4 separate regions of the Homo sapiens genome follow, and all the other regions are linked to region 4. The links are contacts of gene promoters, found by promoter capture Hi-C in blood cells and fetal thymus (Javierre and others, 2016). All regions are on one chromosome and are shown on one strand. Each heading gives the region's core, a stretch centred on a gene start or on the middle of the fragment in contact. The rest is flanking DNA. Distances are from core to core; before and after follow the strand shown.

Region 1 (2,956 bases), core at 154-2,653, 390 kb before region 4:
TGCAAACCCAGTGAATCCTAGACAGGATAAATAAAAAGAAATCTGTACCTACATACATCATAGTGAAAATGCAGAATATCAGAGAGGAAGAAGGCTATTATAATGATCAAAATTAGAGGTAATGGAGTCTTAACCCTGGGCAGGAACAAAATAAATTGAGACAAGGGGATGGGCCTTTAGACTCTAGCCTTTAGAATGCCTTTTGCTCAAACTTTCCATGAAAGACTATTTTATAAAGATGTTACCCATTTCATTCCTAATAAATAAAAATACATTTGTTAACAAATGAATTTATTGGAGCAACCTGATACCTGGAAGCCATTTCCAATTGTCTTTGTCATACATGGAAGGCTATGGTTTTATATGTCCCTTATCCCATGGGACCTGAAAGAAATATTTTCCACAGGAATAAAATGCTAGTGGCAGCTGAACTTTAAGGCTAGAGAAATGTGCTTTCACGTGACTTTCTAACAGAAAGGAGAATAAAAGTGAATTTATTTGTTTGTTTTTGAGACAGGGTCTCATTCTGTTGCCCTGACTAGAGTGCAGTGGTGGGATCTCGGATCACTGCAACCTCAGCTTCCCAGGCTCAAAGCAATCCTCCCACCTCAGCCTCTGGAGTAACTGAGACTACAGGTGCATGCTACTATACCCAGCTATTAAAAAAAAAATTGTAGAGACGGAGTTTCACCACGTTGCCCAGGCTGGTCTTGAACTCCTGAGCCCAAGGAATCCTCCCGCCTCGACCTCCCACCGCGCTGGGATTACAGGTGTGAGCCACCGGGCCTGGCCAAAAGTGAATCTTTATAGGAATTCTTCCTTCTGCTTACCTGCTTACTGTGCAACTTTCACTCTGCTTCTAAGGAAAAGTATGTAAAATGAACAATTTCATAGTTTCCAGGGAGTCTTATTACAACCTTCAAGGTGGACCATATGTACTCACTTATTGGGCTATCTAAGCTTGGCTGGCATAGAATTCCTGCAGGGGGGTTCATGTTTGTAATAGATCTAAAAATGCAATGGCCTGTCTTTGGAAGGAGTCAGATTTTTACTTGTTAATAGAGCTGTTCATACAGAGATTGAATGGTCACTTGTTAGGGATATGATAAAGAAAACTGTGCTCCATATGGGATGTTATTTCAGAGATTCTGTGGTCCCCTGAATGTCTAAAAATTTCTGACAATTTAAGCCAAAAGCAGCTGTCTGTGAATCCTTCTAAGAAGAATTTAAACTGTTTTTGCTCAAAATATGTCCAGCATTTATTCTATTTGAGAGACAAATATCTTATATAGCCATAAAGACCCCCATCACCATCACAGAAAACTGTTTCTTCAAGAAAAGATATTGGGAGGGCAGGAAAGCCTTCTCTGTTGCCTAGTGCCAACCCAACCAGAAAGAAGTTCAACAGTGAAGGCATTAACCTGCTTTCATCTGTGGTATGCAATATGTCACCAACAATTTTGATCAAGTGTCACAAAGGGAGGGATAGCTGGGTTTTAATTCTGATTTTGCAGCGTTTCTCTTTACTTTTGCCAGGCATTCACAATTTGTGTAGGCCACAGCTCTCTCCCAAAGCCTGTGAAAGCCTACATTTTAGTATCTGTAGCATCTTTTAGAATTATGTTCCTCCGTTACTACGGAAGAGCAGGATCAGGGAAAATGTTCCATTACTCTAAGATTTATCCCAGGGACTTGCTGTAGCATAATATACTAAAAAGGGCATTTGACTACAAATATGAAGATCAGAGATAGCTTCTGAATCTGTTTTCTTATCTGAAATATGGAGGTGATAATAATGCCTGTTTGTTAACAGAGCAGCCCTAACAGTAGGGAATCCCTATCTGTCAAAGCTTCTGAGCTCTGTGATTTCACTTCCCTCATCCTGGTCAGGTTTCTCATAATCTCCATCTGGAAGAGTTGCTGTCACTATCACTTATAGCCACCAGGGGTCCTCAGCAATCCTGATCTAATCGTGAAATGAGCCTTTTTATTTATCTAATTGTTTTCCTGAATCTGGGTAAGCCAGGCTGATATTTTCAAAAGGAACCTTCTTCAGAAGCTCAGGGATAAGCACAAGGAACAGAGACCATTGTGAGCAAGGAGATTTTAGTGCACAAATAGATGGCTTTGTGCTTCTACATTTGGGTCTTAGCTGCCACCAGCTACTCTGCCCTTCAGTGGGGCTGTTGATGGCTGCCCTCTGGGCACCCCTGCCCCTGCTCCTGCACCCAGAGGATGAGAAACAAGAGTCCTATACAAAAGGTGAATAGTAGCCCCTGCAGTTTTGTAGGGTGCAGTCTGTGTGGCCATATGTGTTGCCTTTGGTGAGAAGATCTCCTTTCTAACGTGACTCTCTTCTGAGTGTCAGAGACCTGCATTAGTCTTGCACCGGCCCTCAATTGTTATAGGATCCATGTCAGGCCCCTCAGTTCCTAATTATTATACCCTTGCATTCTTAGCCAAGTTCTCTCTGCTCATGTTAAATTTTGACCAAAGGCTTTCCTCTTATATAGACTTATTGTATCAATATAGTGTACATTTGTGGTAATAGAAATAATTCATAACAAGGCACTTAATCCTGTCAGTAACTCTAGTCTCTACTTCTCAACACTGCTCCAAAACATCCCTTTACTCCATTATCTCTCACTGTGAGTAGTGCTCATAATGTATTCCAGATGCACCTCATATTCCACAGTCCCCTTTCAATTAATTGGGATCATGTGACTAGTTATAGACAATGAAATGCAAACATAAGTGACCTATACCATTTCCAGGATGAGATATTTGAGACCCAGTGCATGATCATAAGATCTCTCTTTTTTGCTCTTGTAACTCTTTGCCAGATGTTGAGATGATAACATCAAAGATGGAGGGAACCTAGATCCCTGAGCCGTCAGATGAAAAAGAGAGCTGCAGACAGGCATTTGAACTCATGTGAGCTGGAAATCAAGCTTTG
Region 2 (2,756 bases), core at 56-2,555, 340 kb before region 4:
TCCATCTAAACCACTCTTTTTTATTTATTATTTTATTTATCTATTTTTTAAGTTGATAAAAGGGGTTTAATTGGCTCACGGTTCCAAAGTCATACATGAAGCATGGCTAGGGAGGCCTGAGGAAACTTACAATCATGGCAGAAGGAGAAGGGGAAGCAGGCATGCTCTACATGGCTGGAGCAGGAGGAAAAACTAAACCACTCTTTAATAACTGACCTACAGAAACTGTGAGACATTAATTATTTGTAGTTTTAAGCCACTCCATTTCAGGGCTTATTTGTTATGTGGCAAAAAATAATAATAATAATAATTAAAACAGATGTTTGGTGCCAAGAGTAGGGTGCTGCAGTAACAAAACCTAACATGCGAAATGACTTTAAAACCAGCAGAGGGCTGAAGCTGGAAGGAGTTTGGAGAGAGTATTAATGAAAGTCTAAGATTCTTGGAACACACCATTATCAGAAACCTAACCATCTTTATGAAGGTTGCCTGTGAGAGCTTAAGGGAAAGTAAAGAAAACTTTATTGGAAACTGGAGGAAAGGGATCCCTTGTAATTTAGTGCAATGATGTGGAGAGTAGAAAACATGTTCACAATTTGGATTGTGAATATACCAAAGGGTATTTCCAAAAAGAATGTTGACGGTGCTGCCTGGATTTTTTTTGGGGAAAGGGGGTGCTGTTTATAGCAAAATGTGAGAAGAGAATGTTAAGGGACAGACTTGAGCTTAAACAAAATGGAGACATAATTTGCTGCTTTCAAAACCCCCAGTGTCTCCAGATGGAAAATAATGCTAAAGTTAAGAAAGGGCATCTAAGCAAAGATCAAATCCAGAACCCTTCCAGGAAAATATGATATAAAGATGAAGCCAGTGATGCAATTATAAAATCCATTATTAAGGCCTAAAAAGAAGTGGAGAAGTACCTCAGAAAAACAATATTCCATCTAAGAGGATTATGGGTGTTGTCCCTAAGCAGTCTTAGCAGAAGTCCAAAGCCAAATGAGCTTATCTAAGAGAGTTGTGTATATACCTTTTGTCTAATGGAGTAAATTCCCATGTCTTAGTCCATTTTGCACTGTCATAACAGAATAACTGAAACTGGGTAATTTATAAAAAACAGAAATGTATTTTTTCACAGTTCTGGAGGCTGCAAAGTTCAAGACCAAGATGCCAGCACCTAGTGAGGGCTTTCTTGCTATGTCTTCACATGGCAGAAGACAGAAGGGCAAGAGAAAACCAACTCTGTCCATTAAGCCCCTTATAAGGGCACCTACTCCCATTCATGAAGGAGGAGCCCTCATGGTCTAATCACATTATAAAGGCTCCACCTTTTAATACCATTACATTGGCAACACCTGGTTTTGGAGGGGACATATTCAAACCATAGCACCCAATAAAATTTTTCGAACATCATGTCTTTTGTAGATAGATAGAGAGATAGAAAGACAGTTCACCAACATGCCATGGACCAATCAGAGCCAATTTAAGGCCCTTCAAATGACACGGCATAGATAATTCTGACTTGGACTGCCCATTCATTTTAAAAAATGGTGACAAAAGGCCTTGTGCCTTTTTTGGTTATAGCCATAGGAAACATTGTGTGTTACTACGTGATAATACATTGTTAAATGTCAACAGTAGTGACACAAATGGATTGTGGATGCATTATGTTAACTTTGTTTTAACAGACTCTCTTCAGACACCTACTAAAAAGAAAACACAGTGCTATGTGTTTCAGGAGAAATAGATAAATAAAATCCTTTAAAGTCCCAAACATTCAGATGTCCACCCTCTAAGGGGTGGAGGAGAATAGATACACATATATAAGCAATGTTAATATACACTAGGATATGAGATGTGCTGCCATAGTATATAAAGATACTGATGCCAATTAGCAAGCATCCAGGCAGTCTTAACTAAATGTAGAAACAAGGCCTTCTACCCTAAAACCCCTGGCCCTCCCCTTCTCTGATCCTCTACTCTGGCCAACTCAAACTTCATTTTTTTCCTTAAACAGGTTCCAGATAATAGGCCCATTTCCTCTTTTAAGTGTTCTTTTATGTTAAGAAATATTTCAGACTTACACAAAGGTATAGGAATACTACATCTGTGAACCCACCTCCCAACTTTAGAAGCATATTACAAATAGAGGTGAAGTCCACTGTGTACCTCTCCCCAATTAAATTCTCTCTCTTTCTCCACAAGATCTAATCACCCTCTTAAGGTGCTTATCATTCTCATATATACCTATCTGCATGTTACATGTGTATGCATCACTGACATGTATGCCTTTTACTATAAATGTATGTAACCACAGTCATTACAGTGATTGTTTTACATGTTTTTAGACTTCATATGCATGGTATAATACTTATATCCTTCTGGAATTGTTTTTTTTCCCTTACCCACTTTTCACTGCCACCACCAAATCTTTGCTTCTTGTTTTTAGTTGAATTGGGTCCTTCAAAAAGATATGTTGAAGTCCTAATCCCAAGAACCTGTGAATGTGACCTTATTTGAAAATATCTTATTTGCAGATGTAATCAATTTAAGATGAGGTCATACTGGATTAGGTGGGCCATTAATCCATTACTGATGTCCTTATAAAGAAGATACACAAAGACAGAGACACAGGGGAAAACACTGTGTCTGTGAAGACAGAAGAAGAGGTTAAAGTGATGAATTTGCAAGCCAAAAGATACTACAACTTGATGGCAAAAGCTAGGAGAGAGGCATGGAATAGATTCTCCATCAGA
Region 3 (2,839 bases), core at 316-2,815, 300 kb before region 4:
TGGTTTTAGCTGTTATGTTCATGTCTGTGATTCAGTTTTAGTTAATTCGTATATGCTGTCAGGTACAGTTCTAAATCTATTGTTTTACATGCAGATACCCAGTTGTGCCAACACTACTTGTTGAAAAGACCACCCTTTTCTCCCATTGAATTGTCCTGGCACTCCTATTAACAATTCAGTGACTACAAATGTAAGGGTTGAGAACATTTTCTTTTATTCCTAGTTTCTTGAGGGCTTTTATCAAAAAAGGCTGTTGGAGTTTTCAAATGCTTTTTCTTGGTCTATTGAGTTCATGTGCATTTTTTGTATTTTATTCTATTTACATGGTGTATTACATTACAGTCATGTGCTGCGTAACAATGTTTTGTTCAATGTCAGACTACAGATATTACAATGTTTCCATAAGATTATAATGGAGCTAAAATATTTCCTATTACCTAGTATGTCATACCCGTCAAACTAGGATGTCATACCCATCATAACTTTGTAGAAAAATGCATTGTTCATGTGTTTGTGTTGATGCTGGTGCAAATAAACCTACTGTACTGCTAGTCAGTATAAAAGTATAGCACATACAATTAGGTACAGTACTTAGTACTTGATAATTACAATAAATATATGTCATTGGTTTACATATTTACTGTACTATACTTTTTATTGTTTAGAGTATACTCCTTCTACTTAAAAAAATAGGTAACTGTAAAACAGCCTCAGACAGGTCCTTCAGGAGGTATTCCAGAAGAAAGTATCATTATCATAAGACATGACAGATCCATGTGTATTGCTCCTGAAGACTTTCCAGTGGTACAAGATGTACAGGTAAAAGACGATCATATTGATGAGTCTGACCCTGTGTAGGCCTAGGCTAATGTGTGTGTTTACGTCTTAGTTTCTAAAAGAAAAGTTTAAAAACTTTTTAAAAAATCTTAAACATAGAAAAAAAGCTTATAGAATAAGGCTATAAAGAAAGAAAATATTTTTGTACAACTGTAAAATATGTCTGTGTTTTAAGCTAAGTGTCATTACAAAAGAGTCAAAATTTTTAAAAATTGAAAGCTCATAAAGTAAAAAATGTTATGATAAGCTAAGGTTAAATTATCATTGAAGAAAGACAAATATTTTTAAATATACTTAGTGTAGCCTAAGTATACAGTGTTTATAAAGTTTACAATAATGTACAGTAATGACCTAGGACTTCACATTCATTCACCACTCACTTACTGACTCACCCAGAGCAACTTCTAGTCCTGCAAGCTCCATTCATGGCAAGTTCCTTATATAGGTGTACCATTTTTTATCTTTAAGATAATATTTTTACTGTATCTTTTCTAGGTTTAGACATGTTTAAATACACAAATACTTACCATTGTGTTTTAATTGCCTACAGCATTCAGTACAGTAACATGCTATACTGGTTTGTAGCCTAGGAACAATAGGCTATACCATATAGCCTAGGTGTGTAGTAGGCTATACCATTTAGGTTTGTGTAAGTACAGTGTAGGATGTTGGCACAACAAAATCGCCTAATGATGTGTTTCTCAGAACATATCCCTGCTGTTAAGTGATGTGTGACTGTAATTGATATTCATGTGTTAAACAAACCTTGCATTCCTGGGATAAATCTAATTTAGTCATGATATGAAATCCTTTTCATGTGTTGGGTTAGGTTTGCTAGCATTTTGTTAAGCATTTCTTTCATCTGTCTTCTTAAGAGACATTAATCTGTACTTTTCCTTATGTGTGATATCTTTGTCTGGTTTTGGTATTAGGATAATCCTGGCCTCACAGAATGACTTGGGAAATATTCCTTCCTCTTGTATTTTTTGAGAGATTTTGTGAAGAATTTGTATTATTTTGTTTTTTAAATATTGGACAGAGTTCACAGGAAGCCATCAAGGGCTGGGTTATTTTTAAAGGGATTTAAAAATTACTAATTCAGTCACTTTAATTATTACAAGTATTCTCAGATTTTCTATTTATTATTGAGTAGTTTTTAGTATTTTGTGTCTTTCTAGGAAATTTCTCATTTGCTCTAGGATAACCAATTTATTGACATAAATTGTTTATAGAATTTCTTTGTAATTATTTTTATTTCTGTAGGGTTTTTTTTTATTAGTAGTGCCCCCTTTCTTATTCATGATTTTAGTGGTTTGAATTTAATATCTCTTTTTCTTGGTCAGTATACCTAAAGCTTTGTCAATTTTGTTGATCTTTTCAAAGAACTAAATTTTGATTCATTGATTATCTCTTTTTCTTCTATTCTCTATTTGTTTATGCCCATTCGAATCTTTATTTCCTTTCTGCTTGCTTTATGTTTAGTTTGTTCTTGTTTTCCCACTGAATTTCACAAATTCAATTATAACTGTTATAACAATGACAAGAGAAAACGTAAATACTAAGAAGACAAACAAGCTAATTTTTGAAATGGGCTAAATATTTGAATTGGCGTTTATCCAAAGAAGATATATGAATGGCTGATAAGCACAGGATATAACTTCTAACATCATTAGTCATTAGGTATATGACAACCCAAACCGCAATGAGATAGTAATTTACAACCACTAGATTGGGTATAATAAAAAAATAGCCAATAACAAGTGTTGGTGAGGATGTGAAGAAAATGAAAGTTTCATACATCACAGATAAGACTGTAAAATTATGCAGAAATATTGGAAATTCTTTGGCAGTTTCTCAAATAGTTAAACATTGAGTTATCCTATGACTCAGAAATTCAACTTTTAGTTACATATCTCAGAGAAATAAGAACATATGTCCACATAAAAACCTGTACAGGAATGAAAATAGCAGCATTATTTATAATAGTCCAATATTGGAAACC
Region 4 (3,062 bases), core at 12-2,511:
ATCTCTTTCCAAACTGTCCAGATAGCTGCCTTGGGACTACTTACTGCCATTTAGTAGAAGAGAATCCCAGATTGCCCCTTTTCTCATTCACAAGAAAAATCCCTGCTTGGAGCACACGCCTGCCTCACTCGAGATGGCACACATCTTGGAAGGTTACCCCAGAGATGCTCCTCCAGGGCAGAGTTCCTTGGCTTGGCATCTGCGTGTGCCCCACCCCATTTTTTTTTAATCCACATGACTTTGAGGCTCTATTCTCAAAACAGCTTGCCAAGAGCCCTTTGCTTATACATGGCCTCCCAACTCCTTCCTCCCTCTAAACTTTTTTTCACTTTTAATGCACTCTTTAATTCCGGTGGACTTAGTTATTGCAATAAATAAAAACATCTGTCAAATATTTCCTCACAGCGATATCATGCAAATTATTGACCTCATTCACCTTAGTGTTCAAACCGCTGCGCATCATTGCCAAGATACAAAGAGATCAAGTTTGCTTCCAAAGGGATTTTTTTAAGAGTTTAAGAAAAAAAAAAATGCACATAAATTGTTTAGATTCCAAAATAGGAAGCTGGACAAGAGATTTTCTGTGGTTCATTACAGCAGTTTAATAAACAGATAGGGGCGACAGTGAAGGAAAGGAGCGGTGCACGGAGTGAAGAAAACGCGTGGCTTCTGGAAATTTTATATTCTTCCTATATAACCAAAAAGAGCTTAATCTAGGCATGAATTTTGGATTTAGAGAAGGAATCGTATCACTGACTGTGTGACCTTGGATAAGTCGCCTCACCCGACAGTGCTTTCCTTTATTAATGTGCAAAGCGGGGACGAATGTCCACTTCGCAAGACTGCTGTGAGGATTACGTGAGATCGCCTGAGTCTATAGTGAGAGCTCATTAAATGTTAGTTGTTGCTACTGCTACTTCCTGGAATGAACCGATATTCCAAAATTCCAGAAACTTTGTTTTCTACAGTTTAATGCCTTCGGCTGTAAAATGATAAAAAGAAGCAACACCTTTACACCTGGGACTCACTTATTTGAACCAAAAAAATGCTTTAAACTTCAGATAGGCAAAACACACTTAACTGATGGCTGGGACCCGCTTTGAAAGCACCCCCACCCATTCTCACCCCAGTGTATTGTGGGAAGGGTAGTCCCATGTTCCAGTCGCTTGAGCACAGAAAAGCGCGTAGGAAACTACAACTCCCAAGAGGTAAAGAAGCGGGACTATTTCCCAGTCTGGCGGTAGCGCTGTGGGAGGGAATTGGCAATCTCTCTGCCTACGTGGGAGAGAAGGGAGGGTTGGGGGAAGTGTGGAAAACCTGAACCTGAGCTGCTGTCGCCTGAGGAAGATTTGGTGGGAGGAGAAGCAGAGGGGAAGAGACGGGTTGAGAGTGAGGTGAGGAGGGCATCTAGGTCACTGCTCCCGGGGGGCACAAAGTTCGCGATGTGGCTGAAGCCTGAGGAAGTGCTTCTGAAAAATGCGCTGAAGCTGTGGCTGATGGAAAGGTCCAACGACTACTTCGTGCTGCAGCGGCGTCGGGGCTACGGGGAGGAAGGCGGAGGGGGGCTCACAGGTAAGCTGTGGCCACCCTACCTGCCTCTGGGCTGTGTTCGCTGTTACTTAAAAGGTGGTGAGGACAACAGTTACTCGTCGCTACCAGTTTCCCGATCCTAAATCGTGGGCGGAGGGACTGGGGTTCTTCTCCCGACACCACCTTTCCGCCACCACCTCCAAGTCCTGAGAATGTCTCACTGGACGACGAGTTGCTCTTTGGTTGGGACAGGTGAAGGGAGGAGCGCGGTTCTTTCTGAGGCCAAGGAAGAAACGGGTACCTACCTTGTCGCTTCCCATGGGGGGAGGGAGGCTGATGATGAGTGTTAGACCTAGACAGGTCGCATTTAGGCTGGTGACAGGGGCCAGTTCGCAGTTGTGAACTTAACTTTTTTCACAGAACCCATACCGATCATCAGCACCCTGGGGAGATTAAGCGTATGGGGGATGGGATGGAGTGGGTACGCGGGGATGGTGAGGAGAAAGGGAGGCGCCCAATCACATCCTGAGAAATAGACTTCAAAAGAAATATTAGGGAGGAGGGAGAACTGGAGTCAGGAGAGGTGGAGGGGTAGGCTCAGAATTGCTGATCTCTCCCAATTTAGCATCTTTTACTTTGTCTCCAAGTTTTCAATCTTTGGGATCCCCTCTCAAAGGCTATTAACAACGTCGTAATAAATTAATCTCTTGAGTGACTGGTGCTGCCCCTTCATTCAAAGCTGTGATTGTAAGCCAGACGGTAAGAGTTTAACTCTTCCTGTCTAACCCACCCTGACCCCAATTCTTAAAAAGTGTTTTTTGGCCAAATGTTTAAAGTTTCCAGAGAAAGTTATTTTGAGACCACTCATCTTGGGTAGGGATATTTAAAGTTTTGGACGTTGGGAAAGCAAGAGCTCTTTTTCTAATCAATCTCTAATTTGGTATTGTGACCTTGAAGTGGTAGACCAGGCAGCGTGATGTAATGGAAAGAGGGAAGAGTCCCGAAAACCTGCATTTTAGTCCCATCCTACTCTCTTACTTGTTGGATGACATTCCTCAAACTCTTTCATTTACTCAACCTTAAGCACCTACTGTGTGCCACAAGGTTCACAAGATTCAGTTTCTTGGCTTTGCAGTGCTTATAATCTGGATAAGAAGGGTGGGAAGGTCTAAAGGAAAAAGAAAACCACCTAGTAAACTAGGCAAGTTATAATTCATGGAGGAGATGACCTTGCTTTTTCTCTCTTGGAAAATGGTGCCTACCTCACAGAGTTGAGAGGATAAAACGAAAGATAATAGCACCAAATCAATGTATGTCGTCAAGATGGTGATAAACGTATGCTGTTATTTCGTTTTCAAGCCACTCCCGGGGTGCAAAGAATTCTGAGGTTCTACAGGACATTTTTTAAAATTTTGCTAGACCTATTAATCTTATCCAGCTTCTAAAAAGGCCCTCTCGAAAATATGGCAACAAAAATTGCCCTGTTAAATGTGACATTTTGTCATTTTCTAATTTTTAAAAATTACAAATGC

Evidence for each region. Contacts are between HindIII fragments. The CHiCAGO score rates a contact against its expected background, and 5 or more counts as called.
Region 1: a fragment that was not itself captured here is called in contact with the fragment with the promoter of TBC1D8B in region 4 in 4 of 17 cell types (naive CD4 T cells, activated CD4 T cells, total CD8 T cells and 1 more); the score reaches 8.3 in naive CD4 T cells.
Region 2: a contact is called between a fragment that was not itself captured here and the fragment with the promoter of TBC1D8B in region 4, in 5 of 17 cell types (total CD8 T cells, naive CD4 T cells, activated CD4 T cells and 2 more). The highest score is 8.4, in total CD8 T cells.
Region 3: a contact is called between a fragment that was not itself captured here and the fragment with the promoter of TBC1D8B in region 4, in 2 of 17 cell types (total CD8 T cells and naive CD4 T cells). The highest score is 5.9, in total CD8 T cells.

What each region holds. Positions count from the first base shown.
Region 1 is chrX:106,413,544-106,416,499 of GRCh38, forward strand. No RefSeq gene overlaps it. Among named protein-coding and RNA genes, the nearest start is that of RADX, 200 kb to the right of the region's middle. The HindIII fragment of the contact is 890 bases long and covers 959-1,848 here.
Region 2 is chrX:106,461,740-106,464,495 of GRCh38, forward strand. No RefSeq gene overlaps it. Among named protein-coding and RNA genes, the nearest start is that of RADX, 150 kb to the right of the region's middle. The HindIII fragment of the contact is 4,432 bases long and covers 1-2,756 here.
Region 3 is chrX:106,498,436-106,501,274 of GRCh38, forward strand. No RefSeq gene overlaps it. Among named protein-coding and RNA genes, the nearest start is that of RADX, 110 kb to the right of the region's middle. The HindIII fragment of the contact is 1,247 bases long and covers 943-2,189 here.
Region 4 is chrX:106,801,412-106,804,473 of GRCh38, forward strand. It overlaps TBC1D8B (TBC1 domain family member 8B), which reads left to right and starts at 1,262. Exons shown (of 21, transcript NM_017752.3): 1 at 1,262-1,572. The coding sequence starts at 1,443. The HindIII fragment of the contact is 5,023 bases long and covers 1-3,062 here.